Regions from separate parts of the Homo sapiens genome. Here region 1 is linked to region 2. Evidence: promoter capture Hi-C in 16 types of primary human blood cells and fetal thymus (Javierre and others, 2016). All regions are on one chromosome and are shown on one strand. The core of a region is centred on a gene start or on the middle of the fragment in contact, and the rest is flanking DNA. Distances in the headings are between cores, read along the strand shown.

The links. Contacts are between HindIII fragments. The CHiCAGO score rates a contact against its expected background, and 5 or more counts as called.
Region 1: a fragment that was not itself captured here is called in contact with the fragment with the promoter of RARS2 in region 2 in 6 of 17 cell types (naive CD8 T cells, naive B cells, total CD8 T cells and 3 more); the score reaches 7.5 in naive CD8 T cells.

What each region holds. Positions count from the first base shown.
Region 1 is chr6:88,856,550-88,863,259 of GRCh38, forward strand. The region is part of intron 8 of RNGTT (RNA guanylyltransferase and 5'-phosphatase); the gene reads right to left. Among named protein-coding and RNA genes, the nearest start is that of RNGTT, 100 kb to the right of the region's middle. The HindIII fragment of the contact is 4,031 bases long and covers 1,369-5,399 here.
Region 2 is chr6:87,584,865-87,591,424 of GRCh38, forward strand. It overlaps RARS2 (arginyl-tRNA synthetase 2, mitochondrial), which reads right to left and starts at 5,123. Exons shown (of 20, transcript NM_020320.5): 1 at 5,058-5,123. The coding sequence starts at 5,093. It overlaps ORC3 (origin recognition complex subunit 3), which reads left to right and starts at 5,271. Exons shown (of 20, transcript NM_012381.4): 1 at 5,271-5,328. The coding sequence starts at 5,305. RefSeq lists enhancers at 4,253-5,214, 4,978-5,207. The HindIII fragment of the contact is 3,839 bases long and covers 2,978-6,560 here.

The DNA.
Region 1 (6,710 bases), core at 2,134-4,633, 1.3 Mb after region 2:
TTAGAGGACGGGATTTACAAAAGGATAGCTTCTGCATCTGCAGAAACACCAGAGAAATTATTTAGCACTTGGTATTTAGGGATTCTTCTGCACACATAAATTTTCAGGCTTTGGAACACAAGTTCCTGAGCTATGATTTTTAGTTTGAACTCCAGTCATTCCAAATCATATGTTCTTTTGTTATGCGATACTAACAAAAAGTAAGGAGCTATTTCATGTAAGGAATGTGGAAATATTTCCACATCACTCCAAAGTCCCTGAAAGCAGCCAGATTCTTTAAAAAGAAGCAACTACCTCACAAACTGTCAGATACTGCCTTAGTATATAACTATGATGCAATATAATTTCTTATTAATTAGGAAATTATCTCAACTGCAAATTTAATATTCAGAATTATCAATAGGTATTTGTATTATATTCATTCATTCCCATTAAAAGGCAAAATTTAATTCAGTATACGTTTCCCAGATAGAAAATGCTAAAGTATATAAACCAAAGGTATATGGATTACAGAAAAGCCAGATGTATAGACTACTTTACTGTAAATGCAGGTTTTCTACCAAAACTGGAAATAATCTTTCAGAGCAGTTGCTGAGATGTGAGATATATAATTAAGTAAAACAACCAAATATACATTAATAAAATTAGGAAGTACATAATTAAAGAGAAGGAAAACTGACAGAAAACAATGGTAACTAATACCACCTTAGAGTCCTAATTCACATTCCTCCCAGTAGTCTGAGAGTAAAATGGTCGTTAAACTCCTGGTAATTTAAAGTTATCACCAATTTAGACCCAACTCTGATCATCAATTCAGGAATTTATCTTATACTCTATGAAGGCAGAAATCCTATCTATTTTGTTCCTTCTCACAGCTTAAGTATCTTGCACAGTCTACCTGAATACACACTAAAGGAAGGCACTCAATATTTGTTAAGCAAAGCTGTATGTACAACAAAGTTCATCATAATATTTTATAACAGTGAAAGGATAAAAACTCAAATGTCCATCATTCAGCAAATAGGTAAAATAAATATTGCATATTCATGTAAAAGCATACTAGTCAAGCATTTTTTAAACAATGATAAAAATATTCATTAATATGGAAAGAGATTTACAATATATTTAGTGGGAAAAAAGCAAGTTTAAAACCAGAATACATTAAATAATTACAGAGGAAAGGAGGAGGACAAAACTGTATGTATATCGTAAATATAGAGTAAAGCCTATACCAAAATAGTAAGAGCTGCCCCATCTCTATGTATTAGAATTATCAATGATATTTGCTTTCCTCATTAAGCTTTTCTGTACTTTCAAAATTTTTAGAAATAAACACAAATTGCTTTTAGACACAGGGGGCAAAATTAAAGCTTTACAAGGGGGAAAAAAGCCACCAAGCCAGAAATGTAGTCTATAATCAGACCCAGAGAAACATTTTCCCTTTGCAAAGTGGCAATGAATTAAGACAGGATTCTAACCCTTGTTCTTTGTACCACAGTGGCTTCAAAACAACAGATATTCCTCTTCTTCTGTCATACAGCCTCCATACTAGAGCATTTTGATGGGCAATAAAAACAGAAAAGCTGATCATTTACATTGATTTATTTCACCACCATCTCTATCTCTATCCATTTTTCCTAGCCCCTATCAAACTTATTATGGCTTTTCTCTTAAATTTTTTAATCAATTATTTTTTAAAATATAAGTTAAAGGGCCGACCTGGAGCCAGTCTAGATGCTAGGCAGTACTAGATGCTAGGGTTATAACAGCAAATGGCACAGACTCTCTTCTCAACTTCACATCATTTACACTCTTAAAAAGAAAACAAGATATTAAATAATTCCAACCATAATACATATTAGAACAGTGAAGAAGAAGCTATTACAGGAGCCTACAAAGGTAGAGCCTGTCAGAGTTTGGAGATCATGGAAGGCATTCCAGAGGAATTCATGCATAGCTGATAATAACAACAGGTTACACTTACTGAGCAATTACTATGTTCTGAAGAAAAGAGCACTTTTATTAACTCATTTATTAACTCATTTAATCCTTACAACAACCTCACCAGGTCAGTAAAATTATTATCCCCATTTTCCAGATGAGGAAACTGAGACATTGCCCAATGTCATAACGCTGACACAACGGCAACGCTGATATTAAAATTTAGACAATAGTTTGTTTGTACACCCTCTACAGTATACTAACCCTCACATTCAATATGTAGGAGTCAACCCAGCACAGGTTGTAATGTGAGAGAAGAAGAGAAATGAGGGATGGGAGGGTTGGAGTACACAGACTAGTAGGTGCAATGTCCTTCAGACAAGATAGAATGCAGCAATGTTCTGGTAACTAAAAAAGGTTCAGAATACTCAAGTGTAAAGAGAAAGCAGGAAAATGGTATGAAATGAGACTAAAGAAGTAACAGACAAATAGGAATTATGAAAACTTTTTTTTTTTTCTGAGACAGGATCTCACTCTGTCACCCAGGCTGGAGTGCAGTGGTGTGAACATAGCTCACTGCAGCCTCAAACTCCTGGGCTCAAGCAATCCTCCCACCTCAGCCTCCAAAAGTGCTGGGATTACCGGCATAAGTCACCGTACTCAGTCTGAAAATCTGTTTAATCCCCCCACCCCCAGCTACTAGTTATTTTAACTTTTTTTTTTAACTTTATCTTAGAAAACAAAAAACTACTTGTATGAGACAAACAGAAACCATAATGCAGAATTCAAACCCAGGAGATATATATAATACAGCACATTGGTTACAAAGATACTGGAAAGCTGAGAACATAGAACAGGAAGGCTGAAATAACTCAGAGATTAATAGTTGCAGGAAGCACTATGACCCGCAGGACTAGGGGAACAAAATGAAAGAGGTCTGTTATTGAAAAGCTAGGAGCTTGGAAGAAAAGCATTATAGGGCTATGCCTGGAAGAAGGTGAAAGAGGTCCATGTGGCAGAATGCTCTAACCTCTAAGGAGGTGGCCACAAATGGCCCTGTAGCTTAAGTTTGAATCCCTATGAACAGGTGTCCAATAGAGGATGGTCAAACCACTAAGGGAATAAAGTCCAGCAGGTTAGGAAGTGATACAAGTGGCACTCTATCTACCTAGGATGCCTTGCCCAGAAGCTGGTATCTCTGAGAGGAAACAGCAAGACTGGTGCAGAGAGTGACAAAAGAAGTTGGAGAATGGAGTAATAGTTGTCCTTTGCTATTGGAGGTGTCCTTACAGAAACTGGGAATAAGAGTAGTCCCTTCTCTCACCTTCCAAATTCCTGCCTGTGCTCCCAGTGGTAAAACTTAACACGAAGTAAGCTGGCAAGGGAGTCTGGGAAATGTAGGTTGCAAAGTCCCAGCCCCTAACACAGAATAAAAGGGTGGACTCGAACTGAGAGATGGGAGGTAAATAAATGCAGACCACTAAAATGTTTTAAGCAAACTAATGACATAATCTCACCTGCATTTTTAAAAGTTCATCACCACATAATGTATACCCCAACAGAATAGGGGTCAATCTGTAGACAAGAGAAATTATAAGGCCTCTGTAATAGACCATGTGAGAAATCACAGTGACTACGACAGTAGTAACAATAATTTTAGAGATAAATAGATAAACTCAAGATATTCAAGTTGCAGACTGACAGTAATTCAATATGCTATTTACTGGATATGTGACTGAGAAAATGAGAGAAGTTCCAAGTTCTGGCTTCAGGAACTGGGCATATTTACTGAGCCATGGGGCATTTAAGAAGGAAGCAGTAATTGTCCCATTTTGTTTGGAAGAAACGATGGACACCATGAGTTTAGATGGAAACCAAAGGCCCAGATTTTCCCTACCCCTAGCAGGCTGGAAATAGGCTCAGGATCTAGACCAGACTATCCATGTTCCTTTCCCAAAACTTTTAACTTGAGTGACAGAGAGGCACAAGAATAGTTGCAGAATTATTTATAGCAACAGCAAAGACATTGTCAGCAAGTGCTAATGGTGGCTTCCTAATCAAAGTGTTCCTGTGCCCTGACCTTGGCTCTGGTCCTTGCTGCTGGCTTCCCTTGATTCCTATCCATTTTCCAAAAGTGGTTCTCCTTATTTATTCCGTTGCATAAATTAGCCAAAGTTGATTTCTATTGCTTACAGTCAAGAAGGCTAAGCATAGTGATACACGTCTGTAATCCTAGCACTCTGGGAGGCCAAAGCGGAGAATCACTTGAGGCCAGGAGTTCAAGACTAGCCTGGCCAAGATAGTGAGACCACATCTCTATTTTTTTTTTAACTTAAAAAAAAAAAAAACATGTTAATGGGTTTTTTGTTGTTGTTGTTTTTGCCTCAATATATACAGCTAAATGTAAGGAGGTTTAATGTGCCTATGATGAAATCCCACTGTAATGTCCCTAACATATCCTTAATACCAAGGGTTACATAATACTAGCCCTTTACCTGGTAACTTCATGCCAAGAGACACACCATCTATTTACCATCCTTCAACATAGACAAGTGTATAATGCTAATTCTAGAGTTTACTTTCTCTGTACATCTTTTCTCTCATAAGAATTCACTACCAAACCTCTGCTATTTCTATACAAGCTACCTTTCTTCTCATTTTTATTCCCAATAGAATTGGCACAGAAGTCCCTGAAAGCTAATTCTCAATGTTGTATTAGTATACAGAAATAAATTCAAGTATACTAAAATTTCTTATAAAGAAAATTCAGACCACTTTCCCAGACAGAATATATAAACCTTCCTCACATAGGAGCAGTTGGTCACACCATGCCCCCTACTCACCAACACCTGTCATGTGTTCAAAAAACAATACAAGAACAGCTGACTTGCCAAACTCCAACTTTCTTCCTTCCCCATGGGGCTCATGCACACTTTGCCTGTTTCTCTCATTACCTCACTGCTCAGTAAATTCTGCCTCTGATAACCTCTTTTGCAAGATATACCCATGTCTTCTTTAACCCATTTTTTCCTGTTTCTTTCAACTCTTTTTTTTAAATAAGAAATCTTAAGTATATTTTACAACTTTTTAAAAAGAAAAAACGTATTTCTCCTTCTCACCTCCTTTAACTTAGTTCCATTCATGAACCAACGAAAACTCTGATCAAAGCTAGTGACACTTCTGTATAAAGCAAAATTTAAAGTAATAAGTTGTTTAATCCATCTAGACAATAAAGAATCAGTGTCAAAACCCCTTTCACAACCTCCTTATATAATAGTCTCTATCTCCTTATCTTATAAAATCCAGTTTTCCCCAAAGTTTTTAAATTATTCAAAATAGTTTTCATAAACTTCTTATGTTACAATGGCAGTTTGCTTAATTACCAGTGTTGAAACAGTACATTTTGTCATTTTTCATAGTATATATACATAATAAGTAATTTAGCTACCTTAGGAATAAGCTTTAGAGGCTAGTTTAGGCACCTAATTATGATTTATACTATAATTCCATAGAAATACAATCTAAACTTAATGAATCTCAGAAAAAGACCAGATAATTTAAACATCATTTGTTTGCATCTGTGATATTGTGAAATATACATATATTTGTTCTTCAACCGTTTCCTGGCATACAAATCCTAAAATCCTCAGAAACACCAAAATGATGCTTTCTTGTATATTAATGAGTTGACTGATGGTTGGCAGCTCTAGGTAGCTTCGGGATGGGGACTAGGAAAGAACATGGCAAGATTAGAGTGTTGGGACTTTCAACACCACCCCACATCTTCTAGGAAGGAGAACGGGCTGAAGATTAAGTTGATCACCAATGGTCAATGGTTTACTCCCTCACGCCTACATAATGAAGCCTCCACAAAAGACCAAGGACAGGGTTTGGGGAGCTTCCAGACAGCAGAACACGTGGACGTTACTGGAGGGTGGCACATCCAGGGTGGACGTGAAAGCTCTGCACTCTTTTCCCCATGCTTCATCCTATGCATCTCTTCATCTGTATTCCTTGTAATATCCTTTAAAATAAACCAGTAAACGTAAGTTTCCCTGAATTCTGTGAGTTGCTTTAGCAAATTAATTGAATCCAAAGAGGGGGTTGTGAGAACTCCAAATTGAAGCTAGCTGGTCAGAAGTTCTGGAGGCTAAGACTTGCAACTGTGTCTGAAGAGGGGGCAGTCTTGAGGACTTTACCTTATGTCATCTTCCCAGAAATTCAATGGACTCATATTAAGATCCTCAGTTTCACATTAACAAATTTAAAAGAACACACACACACAGTAACACTGTCTAACCATTTTTTGACTTTTTACTGCTGCTAACAGTCAGTGAAATGACAACATAGCTCTAACATAATCTCTTTACCAAAAACTATCAAAATTTTCATTCGGCAATATAAGAGATTCTAACCCTACAGTTATTTTTGTTTTGACTTATTGATTCTGTAAGTACAGCAGGCCTCTTCAAAGAATGAGCTCTTCTTTCACACTCGTACCACATCAACTTAAAGTCATGAAACAGATGTGACTGATTATGGCTTTATGGTCTTAAATTCACTTTAAGCCCACAGCTCCCTTCTATTATGTGATCACTTACATGAACACAACAGTAATTAAGCAGACAACATGTATTATTTAATTTTAAATTGCAAAGCCTATTCACTTCTTCACCAATTTAATTGTCAAATTAATCTAACTAGTCTTTGATCTTAGAATGTTAATTGTATATTAAACGGCAGGCCAGCAGCATGCCACTGAAGATTTG
Region 2 (6,560 bases), core at 3,873-6,372:
GAAGGGATGTCTAAGACAACCGAAGTCAACCCCTTAGAAAAAATCAAGAATGCTATGTCATAGCCTATCATTTGCTTAAGGGCAAGAATTATAAATCCTGTCCTTAAGTACTATAAACAGTAAATAAAATAGAAATCCTGCCCTTAAGTACTATAAACAGTAGATAAAATAGAAATCTTACAGGTATTCCTGGAACTGGGGATAATCAAAAGTCAACATGGCAGATTAGCATCCAAGATGGAGTTCCTTTAGCCACCACACCACGTCATCTCCATAGATTTAAAATTATGAACTCATTCAGTGAAGCTGCATATTTTATATGAGATCACAACAGAGATACTCAGGTATTCATTCTTCAAATACACATTAAACACTTATGTTTCGGGCACTTTGCTGGTGCTGAGGAAATAAGAGTGAATAAGACATGTTCTGTCTTCATGAAGCTTATAGAGGAAACAGACACTAAAACAAGTAAAACAAAACAATTACTCTTATTATTGTCATCATAGAAGCAAACAAGGGACTAAGAGAACTAGAGGACACACTTTTCAAATTATAGGTTGCCAGTTAGAAATAAATTCCTTTGCCTGGCGCGGTGGCTCACGCCTGTAATCCCGGCACTTTGGGAGGCTGAGATGGGTGGATCATGAGGTCAGGAGATCGAGACCATCCTGGCTAACACGGTGAAACCCCGTCTCTACTAAAAATACAAAAAAATTTAGCCGGGTGTGGTGGCGGGCACCTGTAGTCCCAGCTACTCGGGAGGCTGAGGTGGGAGAATGGCGTGAACCCAGGAGGCGGAGCTTGCAGTGAGCAGAGATCACGCCATTGCACTCTAGCCCGGACGACTGAGCAAGACTCCATCTCAAAATAAATAAATAAATAAATAAAAATAAAAATAAATTCTGTTGAGTCCCAACCACCAGTCTTAAAAAATACGTATAAAACAGGACAGAATACAGTATAAATAAGTATTGTTTCATGAAACTTTCATCGTGCATAAAGAGTGATAGTATAAAATGCATTTCTTTTAGGCACAAGGAATAATCTACGCAATGGGAATGGAAAGACCCTGCTATGTTAGAAAAACAAATTAACATTGTAGCTAGGTTCCTACAAAAATGATAGAATGGGGCATGAATGGAAGTTGAAGAAGTTAAGGTTCTGGTAGAGACTCGTGCAACAAAGAAAGATAAGTGATATGATTTGATTCACAATTTAGATGTCACCTTTCTTGATACATGGAGAATGAACTGGAGGGAGGGCAAGAATGGAAACAAACACCCCATCAGAAGGCTGTTGTAAGCAGTCAATATAGGTGATAATGGGGGCTTGGTGTGGAATAGAGAAAGGAGAGGGGGAGGCAGCAGCAATAGTGTAGATGGATTCAAGATATAAAGATAAAATCAACAGGACTTGCTGAAGAAAGGAATCCAAATATTGTGATTCTATGTACATATCATGCTTTCCAGATGTCTGTGTCTATGCACATCCTCCTCTTGCAATACCTGACCTCTCCCCAAGCTCTCACTCTATTTACTTGGCACACTCCTACCCATATCCCTTTCAAAACTGAGACCTAACATCACCTTTCTACAAAACTTTGTCTGACCCTTAGGAGCTTTCAAGTTCCCTTGGCACTTTGCACATGCTTCTAATACAGTGATTACAGGCTGCAATGCAATTACCGGTTTACATCGTTTTCCAAGCATGTCTGAGGCCATTTCAGGGCAGAAACTATTTTCCGTTCACTTTTAGCCTTGGGACTGATGACAGTGCTTAGAAAACTGTCGACTAATTAATCAAAGTTAGCTAAATGCATTTGCCATTGCACGTTACACATTCCTTCATTCCTAAACTATTATAGCAAAACGATGCTCATTCGCAAAGGTATTAAATACAGGCTGGGTATCCTTGGGACCACAAGTGTTTCAACTTTTGAATTTTTTCAGATTTTGGAATATTGGCTTTATACTTACCTGTTGAGCATCCCTAAACTGAAAATCTGTGGGGTTGGTTATTTATTTATTTATTTATTTATTTATTTATTTATTTATTTTTTGAGACAGGGTCTTGCTTTACCACCCACGCTGGAGTTCAGTGGCACAATCTTGGCTCATTGCAACCTCCACCTCTCAGGTTCAAGTGATCCTTCCACCTCAGCCTCCCAAGTATCTGGGATTACAGGAGGGTGCCACCATGCCCAACTAATTTTCTAATTAGTTTCCCAGGCTGGTCTTGAACTCTTGGGCTCAAGTGATCTGCCTGTCTCAGTCTCTCCAAGTGCTGGGGTTATAGGCATGAGCCACCATACCCAGCTCCTAATCTGAAAATCTGGAATTCTCCAATGAACATTTCCAATTTCCAATTGAGCTCCAATGAACTCAATGAACATTGAGTCTCATGTCAGCACTCAAAAAGTTTCAAATTTTGGAGCATTTCAGATTTCCAGCTTAGGGATGCTCAAACTGTACGGAACATGTTTTTTCTTTGCTCTTTTTTCCCCATGTCCTAACGTATTGAAAATATTATTATTTATCCTCAAGTTTCAGATCATTCCCCAATGACTCTATATTCAGAGAAATACATATATATCTGCATAATTTACACTGCTGTATAAATCCATTAGATTCTGTTCAATGATTGGACTGTGCTTCTTGCTTTCACAAAGAGCACAGTATATAGGAAAGATCTAATTTTAAAGTTAGAGTTCTGTTCATAAACCAACTCTACAATGTATTGATGATGTGGCTTTGGGTAAGTTATTTAATCTCTGTGGATCTCAACTGACTCAATTATATAATAAGGTTAATACTTCTATATCACAGGGTTGCCATGAGCTTAAATGTGAATGTGTAGTAACTAGCACAAATATATACTCAATATATTAGTTCTTGTTTCTCCAACTTATCTTTTTCTTTTTTTTGAGACAGGGACTCACTTTGTCCCCCAGGCTGAAGTGCAGCGGTGCAATCAAAGCTTGCTAGTTTCAGCCACCTGGGCCCAAACGATCCTCCCACCTCAGCTTCCCAAGCAGCTGGGACCACAGGTGTGTGCCACTACACCTAAGTTTTGTTTTTTATTTCTTTATAGAGATGGGGGTCTCCCTATGTTGCCCAGGCTGGTCTTGAACGTCTCAGTTCAAGGGATCCTCCCACCTCGGCCTCTCAAAGTTCTGGGATTACAAGTGTGAGCCACCATGCCTGGTCCAATTTACAGTCTTTACAAAGAACACAGCCTTTGCAAAACTAAACACAATTTGTTTCTCATCATGGCACTATCTTTACTTAAGGGCTAAGAATGGAAAACGTCCACCCTTACACACAGCTTAGATACTAAGGTCCAAAACTACCTTCCCTGATATGGTTTACTGTCTACATTAACATGAATTTATTATTTTTTGTCTTCATTAGCATAACTTTACTGTTCTAGAAGACTTCTGCCCAAATAACTTAATCATTCATTATAAGAACTTCATGAGAAATCTATTAGCTTTTCACGTTTTTTATTTTTATTTTTTGTTTACAGGGTCTCGCTCTGTCACCCACCCTGGAGTGCAGTGGCACAATCATAGCTCACTGTAGCTTCAAACTCGTGGGTCCGTCCAAGTGATCCTCCAGACTCAGCCTTTCAAGCAGCTAGGACTACAGAGGTGCACCATCATGCCTGGCTACTTTTTAAAAAAAATTTTGTTGAGACGGGGTCTACCTATGTTGTCCACGCTGGTCTCGAACTCCTGGGCTCAAGCCATCCTCCCACCTTGGCCTCCCAAAGTGCTGGGATTATAGGCATGAACCACATGCCAGGCCTATTAGTTCTTCCAATAGAAAACCTCAATAGTTTATGCCTTAAGGCTTCTTGCACTCTTTGCTTTTCCTATCAATCTTAAACCGCTGTATCAGATCAGAGTCCAACCCTAATCAAGCCATCTTCCTCCAACACCCTCCTACCCTCTCCCTCTGAAAGACCAGCCTTAAGCCATACCCATCAGTAAAATCTGACCTTGCTTTCCCAGTTTAATACACTACCAAAGCTCTCAGTGGTGTTCTTCCTTATCCCAGTGAGCAATAAATTCAGCTGTCTTAACAAAATGTCATGTTGGTGATATTTGGCGAATTATCACCGGACAGGGCAGTACATCTATAAACATAAAGACAAGGCAGAGGGATTTCCCCACAAATGTCTAGAAATACTGTAAAAATGAGCCAAGATAAATTATACACCAGGCTAATTACGTCCACTAGTACATCCATTAATCAGAAGGAAATGGGTTAGCCAAGACCACAATAGAAAGTTTCCTTGCAAGGGTGGCCAATGAGTCTTAAAAATTCTTTTTGATTAATTCCACATTTATACTGCAATTTTGCCCAGCGCGGTGGCTCAGGCCTGTAATCCCGGCTCTTAGGGAAGCAGAGGAGGGAGGACAGCTTGAGCCCAGGAGTTTGAGGCCTGCCTGGGCAATACGGCGAGACCCCGTTCTCCACAAAAAGGAAAAACAAAACAAAGCAATTATATTGCAATTTTGTAAGCCCTTCCTCACAACAGAGCTGTTCAAATACGACCCTGAACCAAGAAAAACTGAGTCTCAGATAGCTCTTATATCTTTGGGCGTTACCAAAAACAATTCTAGGGTAGGCTGCCTAAGTGACTGCAAGAGAAATAAGCAGCTTTAAAATGAGGTCCTTCTGAAGAACAATCCAGATCCATCATCAATGTCACTAAAGTGTAAAGAACACTAACTTCTATGGGGTCTAATCATGGTCTAATGACTTGCCGCCACCCAGGTAAAGCATTCATAGCTGTGGGGTGGGAAGGAGAGAAGAAAGCACCAGGTACCTTTCAAAGTTTACTTTTCACCGAGACAAACTGATCCCAGCCGACGCTCCACAGGACTTCTGAAGCTCCACCAGCTCCAGAGAAGGGGGAGGAGGTGGTAGAAACTAACAGGATTCCGTGGGACCCACCCTCCAGCTGACTGAGGACTGGCCCGCAGCGGTGAAAGGCCTTTGGGGTCCCTAGCTCCTCAGGGACTCCTCTGCGCGCTCCGGGATCCATACCTGGCAAGCAATAGCGCGGCGAAAGCCGCACGCCATGTCCACCTCTACGGAAGTGCGCCGCAGTCCGCCAGTTCCGGCCTCGCCCCACCTCCTTATACGACCCGCCTCCCCGCGCCGGAAACCCGCCCCGGAGGGTGATGCCAGCCAATCAAGGAGCCGTGTGGCTCGCCACTAACCTCTGCCCTGCAGCCGCGAGGGCGCGCGGGAAATCCCGAGTGCATCTGGAATACGCAGAGTCAGTAAGACCATGGCTACGTCCTCGATGTCTAAGGTATGTGGTGGCCGATGCGCACTGTGGCTCTACCGCTGCCTCATTCCCCTTTGAAGAAGGGATGAAGCCGAGGTTACGTAGGCATCCCTTCCCTGGCTGGAGAGGAGGGAGGGAGCGGCGTACTGAGCTGAGGCGTCCTTGCTCCAGATCAGTTGAGGCCAACTTTGCTTGGGGAGCGAGGACGCGGATCTGCCTTGTGGTATGGCTAGGAGGATTTTTAAGTTCTGGTTGGTGGAGGTCGGATGTCCTGATGATGTGGCCCAGTCTCTCATTTTTCCATCTCACAAATACTGTGCGCCAAGCACTCCGTTAGGTACCAAGATGCAGTGGTAAACAAAACAGATTCAGTTTCTGCAGTCAAGAAAGTCGGTAAACATAGATAAACTGACGATCACAAATTTTAAGTGTTAGCAAGGAAAAGAGTTCTAGGCAGACAACAGAAGAGTGGGAAGAACCTAATATAGGTTGTCGGGGGTTAGCGGAGGCTTTTTGGAGAAAGTGACCCTTTCGCTGAGACCTGAAAAATGAGTAGAAGTTAGGTTAAGGATTAGGGCGAGGAGGGCAGAGAGAACAGCATGTTTCTTCGGCCCAGAAGATAGAAATAAAATGGCATATTAGAGGAATTTAAAAATCATAATCAGAAAGTAGACAAAGAGTGGGAGCGTCATGAAAAATGAGAATGAAAAAGTAATGTGGATGCGGGTGTGTGTGGTGGGATATCTTATAGACCTCCTCATGTTGGCTACCTAGATGGCAAGAAATTGCAAGACATAGTGTAGTTGGTAAGAAGATAAGCCCTAGAGCTGTATTGTCCAATGTGTTAGTCACTCACCACATGTGGCTATTTAAATTTGAGTTAAAATAAAGTAAGATTAAATAAAAATTCAGTTTCTCCGTTGCACTAACCACATTTCAAGTGCTCAATCATCACATGTGGCTGCAGCTACCATTTTAGATAGTGCAGATATAGGACATTTCTATCATTACAGAAAGTTCTGTTGGACAGCGCTGTTCTGGACCACAAAAAGTAAGACCTTGAGTTCTATTGTAAGTGCAGCGGGAAGCCCCTGAAGTTAAGCTGTCTGAGAAAGCTGAAAAATGCACATGAAGAAGCTACATTCTCCCTATGTTAAAACAATGGATTGATGAAGAAGGCTATGTCATGGATCTGATTTTTTATTTTGATTAAAACGGTTTATGAGAAGCAGTGCTTTTAAAGACTACATCTCAAG